Regions from separate parts of the Homo sapiens genome. Here region 2 is linked to region 1. The links are contacts of gene promoters, found by promoter capture Hi-C in blood cells and fetal thymus (Javierre and others, 2016). All regions are on one chromosome and are shown on one strand. Each heading gives the region's core, a stretch centred on a gene start or on the middle of the fragment in contact. The rest is flanking DNA. Distances are from core to core; before and after follow the strand shown.

Evidence for each region. Contacts are between HindIII fragments. The CHiCAGO score rates a contact against its expected background, and 5 or more counts as called.
Region 2: a fragment that was not itself captured here is called in contact with the fragment with the promoter of FAM171A1 in region 1 in 1 of 17 cell types (naive CD4 T cells); the score reaches 5.4 in naive CD4 T cells.

The regions. Positions count from the first base shown.
Region 1 is chr10:15,369,187-15,372,769 of GRCh38, forward strand. It overlaps FAM171A1 (family with sequence similarity 171 member A1), which reads right to left and starts at 2,103. Exons shown (of 8, transcript NM_001010924.2): 1 at 1,770-2,103. The coding sequence starts at 1,866. RefSeq lists silencers at 1,860-2,089, 2,100-2,149. The HindIII fragment of the contact is 10,313 bases long and covers 1-3,583 here.
Region 2 is chr10:14,966,399-14,969,917 of GRCh38, forward strand. MEIG1 (meiosis/spermiogenesis associated 1) reads left to right here. Exons shown (of 3, transcript NM_001080836.3): 2 at 42-208. The coding sequence starts at 71. Among named protein-coding and RNA genes, the nearest start is that of MEIG1, 8.8 kb to the left of the region's middle. The HindIII fragment of the contact is 1,596 bases long and covers 796-2,391 here.

The sequences.
Region 1 (3,583 bases), core at 853-3,352:
GACCTAAACCTGTTATATATATATTGAATATATATATATATATATATTGAAGACATGCCTTCCTTTCTCTAATTCAGAAGTGCATGAATTTAATATTTCCATATATTGGTATTTCAAGTGCAAAAGGAAAAATTCAACTTGCTCTTTAAAATTAACGGCCTCGCTGAAGTGCAAATATCATTCTCTAAAATAGCTGATTCAAAAAAGCAGTAGGGTATTAATAAAAGAAGCTGCAATGCAACACTGATGATCTAATGTCCTAAACATTCGTTTCCTACACGAAGAGACATATAGGTCTTTTTGTATTTTGTAGCTGTCCGCTCTTCCATGATATGCATTACTAAAATTATACACAATTCATAACGGTCATATTCTACCATGGCCATAGAAGCAGCAATGCATTTAAGATATACCAGGAAATGATACTGCAAGTGCCAGAATATGAAAACCTTCAACTCAACATGTAGGCAACAAACTCAACCCAACAGAGTGTTGGCAGAGCCTTTCCTCCCCGTAGCAACATCGTGGTGGAAGCCCGGGCGTCTCTGCTCCCAGGCACCCTGAGCATGTTAGCCGAGGAAAGGGGGTTCCAGCAAGGAGACCCTCGGATGCAGCACTCCTCGTTTCTTTGGCCTGCAGGGCCAACTTTGCAGGACACACACCCTTCTGAGGGGACAGGCCTCGGGCTCGGAATCCCGGGGTTCTGCAGGGCTGCAGGGAGCTCCCTCGCAGAGACCTGAGCCCCCGGCAAGAGTCCAGGCAGCGGTGCCCTGGGTGAATGCAGAGGCTCATCTGCGGGCCTCAGTGGCCCTTTTGAAAACGCCAGCAACAGAGGAGTCCTCGACGCTGTCCCCACAAAAATGTGCCAAGCAAGCCTCAGGGTGGGTGTGGGGGACTCCCCTCAAAAAACGCTGATTTTAAAAACAAAAGACAGGCTCGTGGCCATTCTCAGAGGCGACCACGTTACTCCCAGGGCTGGAAAGCAGATTTGTGGAGGCCAAAGACGAGACAAAAGGCACGAGCTGGCGACAAACTGATCTGGAAAGGATTTTTCTTTTTTTTTTTTTTTTTTTTGGTGAGCGATGAGGGCCTCCCAGTTCAATTCTTTCTTCCCTTACAGAGAAGACTCATGGGCCGCTGAGCAAATCCCTTATGGTCTGGAAGAGACGTCAGATAGGCAGGGGGAGAGAACCCCCCAAACTTTCCCAAACTGCGGCAGGCTAGTGGCTAGTGGCGGCAGCGGACCTCGGGGCCCCGGGACACAGGGGGCACCCCGGGGCGTCAGCCACCCCCTCCCGCCACAACAAAAGGCCCCAGCGCAGCCCAGGAGCTGGGACTTCCCAGACCCGAGCCCGGCGTGGGGAGCCGGGAGCGCGATCGGGCGGCGCGCCCTGGGCGGCCCCTCTGTCCGCGGCGACATGGGAGACAGAGCCGCGTGTCCGAGGCGCGGCATAAAGGGGACCCCCGGGCGCATCCAGACGAGCCCCCGCCGCAGCGGCGACAGCAGCTGGAGCTGCCCGCGCCCCCGCCCGACCCAGCCCCCGATCCCCGGCCCCCGAAGCCTCCGCCCGGGTCACCCCGCGTCGCCGGCCCGCGCCGCCCCCTCGGGAGCGCGTTGCGGGTGCTGCAGGCCCGGAGGCTCCCGATGCGGCTCGGGCTGCGTCGCCACCACGCGGCCCGGGACCCTCCCGCCGCCGCCGCCGCCGCCGCCGCCTCCGCGCCAGGCCCGGCGCGACACAAAGCCCCCGGCCCCGCCGCCGCCCACTGACCTTGGGCTCCGGCGCCGGGCTCCCGCAGCGTCTTGGTCACCGCCTTCCAGACGTGGCAGCCCAGCAGGCACAGCAGCAGCGTCGCGGACCTGCTCATCTCCGCCGCGGGGCCGGCGGCGGCTCGGGCTCGCCGAGAGCGGGCCGGGCGGCGGCGCGTCACGGGCGGCCGGGCGCCGCGCCCCCCTCCATGTCGCTGGCTCCGCGCGCCGGGCCCGCCGCCCGATTGGCCCGGCCCCGCCGCCCCGGCCGCTCCCTCCCGCGCCCCGCGCCGGGTTTCCCCGAAGAGCCGCGGCGGCGGCGGCGGCGGCGGCTGCTGCTGCTCCGCCAGCTCCTTAACCCCTTCCTGCCTCGCCCGCCGCCGCCGCCGCTGCCCGCGCCCAGGCCCCGGGCCCGTGGTGCCACCTGGCGGCTGCGGCGCCGAGGGCGCCCCCGCCCGGCGCCGCTGCGTCGCGCCCCCAGCCCGACCCCCGGCGACACTGCCCCGGCGCGCCCCATCCCCGCAGCCCCGCAGAAGAGCCAGACCTGCCTTTCAGGGCGGAGCCCTTTTCATCACACCAGGTCACCCAAGGGGCCGCAGGAGACATTGTATCTGGGTGTGACCCCCCCACCAGGTGCCATCCTAATGTAGTTGTGTCCCCCAACGTAGATTTCACACCCAGTGTTAAAGATCCGCAAAAACACTCCCCAAGCCAGTATAGACTGCAGTAGGCCTGCAGTACCTACGTGTTGGCGGGTGGACAGCTTCAGGAGGAATGGTACTTGGATGGTTCTAGGGGTTAGGGTGGGGAGGAAATCCACATCTTTTGAGGCCCTAGGTGCTTTAAAACTTTCTGTCCTATTAAAGAAAAAAGACTATTCCATGACACGTGTGAAAGCACAGCAAAGAAGACCCTCTTTGGAACCATCGCAATAGGTATAAGCCCTACCATGGGATTCTGCAGTCGGGGAGAAAGGTTGGGTTCAACTCTGAATACAGCAGGAACAAGTGGGGATTTATAACCGAGGACCAGGGTGGGATGCAGGGAATGAAAAATTATAAGAGGAAACATCAGGGGGAAGGGGGATTCTTGAAAGTCAGACATCCCCTGGCAGGGCTGGGCAGGACAGGGCGGATGGGGAAGCTGATCAGATATCCAGGGTGGAGGGTTCTTGGTAAACTGACTTAGCAGGGTTCTTCCTGAAAGCAGATTTTACAAGGAAGGGCACAACTGAGCCTAGAAGAAGGTTCCGGAGCCTGACTGTAGTTCGGTCAAGCAGAGACTCTTTGTCCATCTTCACAATACATGATCTAAGAGGTAGTTAGCATTATCCCCCCCATTCACAGATGAGAAAAGAGGCTAAAGAGGGTTAAGGAATTTGTCCAAAAGTGCATACCTGGTCAGTGGCAGAGCCAAAATTCTAATAAAACAGTCAGTCTGACCCCAAAATTGAAACTCTTCACAAAAACCTCCAGACTTGGCTGGGTGTGATGGTTCATGCCTATAATCCCAACACTTTGGGAGGCTGAGGTAGGTGGATGGCCTGAGTTCAGGAGTTAAGAGACCAGCTGGGCCAACATGGTGAAACCCTGTCTCTACCAAAAATACAAAAAAATTAACCAGGCATAGTGGCCCATGCCTGTGGTCCCAACTACTCAGGAGGCTGAGGTGGGAGGATCGCTTGAACCTGGGAGTGGGGAGGTTGCAGTGAGCCAAGATCGTGCCACTGCACTCCAGCCTGGATGACAGACTGAGACCCCGTCTCAAAAAAAAAAAAAAAAAAAAATCAAAAAATAAAACCACCAAAAAAACCACACACAAAACAAAACCAAACCT
Region 2 (3,519 bases), core at 344-2,843, 400 kb before region 1:
ACTATTACATTATCCATTAATGTTGTTTTAACATCTTTCAGATATTATTGATAATAAGGCCTCTGTAACCATGGCTAGTTCTGACGTAAAACCAAAATCAGTAAGTCATGCCAAAAAATGGTCAGAAGAGATAGAAAATCTGTACAGATTTCAACAAGCAGGATATCGGGATGAAACCGAATATAGACAAGTGAAACAAGTTTCTATGGTAAGATTTCTGTCTCTACAAACCTCAACTCGAAATGTATTTCTCAGATGCTGAAAAGTATTTTATAAACAACCAGAGAATAACTGAAGGAAATTCGACTCCAACTCTCTCATTTTATTTGTTTTCTTTTATTTACTTTTATTTTATTTTTTGAGACAGAGTCTCATTCTGTCACCCAGGCTGGAGTGCAGTGACGCAATCTCGGCACACTCCACCTCCCGGATTCAAGGGATTCTCTTGCCTCAGCCTCGTGAGTAGCTGGGATCACAGGCGTGCACCACCACGCCTGGCTAATTTTTGTATTTTTGTAGAGACGGGATTTTGCCGTGTTTGGCCAGGCTGGTCTTGAACTCCTGACCTCAAGTGATCCACGCGCCTAAGCCTTCCAGAGTGCTAGGATTACAGGCAATAGCCAGGACGCCCAGCCAGACTCTCTCATCTTATTAACGGGGAGAGGCCCAGAAGAATGATTTGCAGGCAGAGTGGGAGAAGAGGTGGTCGTTTAGCTGGGCACATTCAGAATTTTCTCTTTTATTGAGCAACTGTGCTCTGCTAAATGAATCTTTTGCGGTAGACCACAAAAAAAAAGCTTTTTTCCTCACTCAGGTGATTTCATTATCAGATAATCAGTATGTTGGGTAACTATTATTTCCCTCCTGTTACTTTTTATTTTAACCATGAATTAGAAAGAGGTTAAAATCCTGTGGTTTTTGGGGCAATTATACCTTACAAACAAAAGTGTTAGAACAACTCGTGACTTTGATAGTATATCCCAGGCTTTCCTGAGAGGGTAGAGACCTAGCTTTGCTTTATGAAGGCTAGACCAAAGTCTAGATTTGGCTCCCGTTTATACAGTGTGGTTCTTCTTAACTTATTTATTCTCTTGGCTACTAAGATATTTTTTTTTTTTTTTTTTGAGACAGAGTCTCACTCTGTCACCCAGGCTGGAGTGCACTGGCGCAATCTCGGCTCAGTGCAACCTCCACCTCCCGGGTTCAAGTGATTCTTAAGAGACGTGTTTTTACAAATTCAGTTCACCCCTGAACAACACAGGGACTAGGGGCTTCAATGCTTCATGCCGTCAAAAATTTGTGTATAACTTTTGACTCCCCAAAACAACTACTAGTAACCTAGTGTTAACAGAAACTCTTGCCCATAAGGTGAATAATTGATCAACCCAGGAATACACTAATATCTTGATATATTTTATGCATTCATGACAAACCTTTTCTTAATTATTTTTGATATTTATAGTCTGTGTGGTTTGCAACTTTTTTCAAATCGTTGCAAATCTCAAAAAAAATTTCAACAAATTTTTTGAAAACAATCCATGTATATATGGACTCCCCAAGTTCAAACTTGCATTGGTCAAGGGTCAACTGTATTGTAAAATATGACATAGTATTCATAAATATATTTTAATTTTTAGATTTGGGATTATAACAGTGTTTATTAACTCAGTTGTTTATTTTTATTTTTTACTAACTCATCATTTTTCAGATTCTAATGTGTAGATTTTGCAGATCACTATAAGCTCTTCTTTTTCTTTTATTCTATTCTTTGACCTCTACTTAAAAATTCCTTTAAAAGTACATAGGAGGCTGGGAGTGGTGGCTCACGCCTGCAATCCCAGCCCTTTGGGAGGCCGAGGTAGGCAGATCACTTGAGGTAATGAGTTTGAGACCAGCCTAGCCAACATGGTGAAACCCTGTCTCTACTAAAAATACAAAAATTAGCCGGGCATGGTGGCATGCACCTGTAGTCCCAACTACTTGGGAGGCTGAGGCAGGAGAATCACTTGAGCCCAGGAGGCAGAGGTTGCAGTTAGCTGAGATCACACCATTACACTACAGCCTGGGCAACAAAGCGAAACCCCATCTCAAATAAATAAATTAATTAATTAAATTAAAATTTTAAAAGTACATAGGAAAAATAATGGAGGCAATACGGAACTATCATGTTATTACCTCTTTAATAGACATTAATTTAATGACATTATTGTGGTTAACAATAGAATTTAAAATACTGATCAAGTGAAGATTGATTACTGTGACTTCCATGTATCTGTCTTCTCAACCATTATACTCTATCCCCATTGCCAAGGATAATTTTCATTACTATATCATCTATGGCTTTTAAACAGAAAAAACAGAAGCATTATCATTTTTATGCTGTTTAAAATAAGCTTTGGGCTGGGCGTGTTGGCTCACACCTGTAATCCCAGCAGTTTGGGAGGCCGAGGCAGGTGGATCATCTGAGGTTGGGAGTTTGAGACCAGCCTGACCAATATGGAGAAACCCTATCTCTGCTAAAAATACAAAACTTGCCAGGCATGGTGGCACATGCCTGTAATCCTAGCTATTCGGGAGGCCGAGGCAGGAGAATCACTTGAAACCAGGAGGTGGAGGTTGTAGTGAGCCGAGATCACGCCATTGCACTCCAGCCTGGGCAACAAGAGTGAAACTCCATCTCAAATAAATAAATAAATAAAATAAGTTTCATACCCTGCCTTAAGATTGGGATGCCCCTAAAGATACACAAGCCTCAGACTCATAGGCGGCCAGCTGTGGTGGCTTACGCCTCTAAGCCCAGTGCTTTGGGAGGCTGAGGGTGAAGGATTGCTTGAGGCCAGGATTTTGAGACCAGTCTGGGTGACATAGTGAGAACCCATTTCTACAAAAAACTTTTTTTAATTAGCCAGGCATGGTGGAGTGTCTCTGTAGTCCCAGCTACTGGGAGGCTCAGGTGGGAGGATTGCTTGAGTGCAGGAGATCGAGGCTGCAGTGACCTGTGATCACATCACTGCACACCAGCCTGGGTGAGAGAGCAAGACCCTGTCTCAAAAAAAAAAAAAGAAAAAAGGAAAAAAGAAAAGAAAGTTGTCACAAGAATTAAATGTAATCACATGTTTGAAGTGCCTGACATTATAGTGCTCATAATTTGTTGGGCTGGGCACAGTGGCTCACGCCTGTAATCCTAGCACTTTGGGAGGCAGAGGCGGGCCGTTCACCTGCAGTCAGGAGTTAGAGACCAGCCTGGCCAACATGGTGAAACCCTGTCTCTACTAAAAATACACAAAATTAGCCGGGCATGGTGGTGCACACATGTAATCCCAGCTACTAGGGAGGCTGAGGCAGGAGAATCACTTGAACCCGGGAGGGGGAGGTTACAGTAAGCTGAGATCATGCCACTGCACTCCAGCCTGGGCGACAGAGCGAGACTCCCCCACAAAAAATTTGTTGACTGAAGGAACAGCAAGTGTTTAGTAAATGATACCTTTTATTAATCTCATCATCTTAGATTCTAAAATA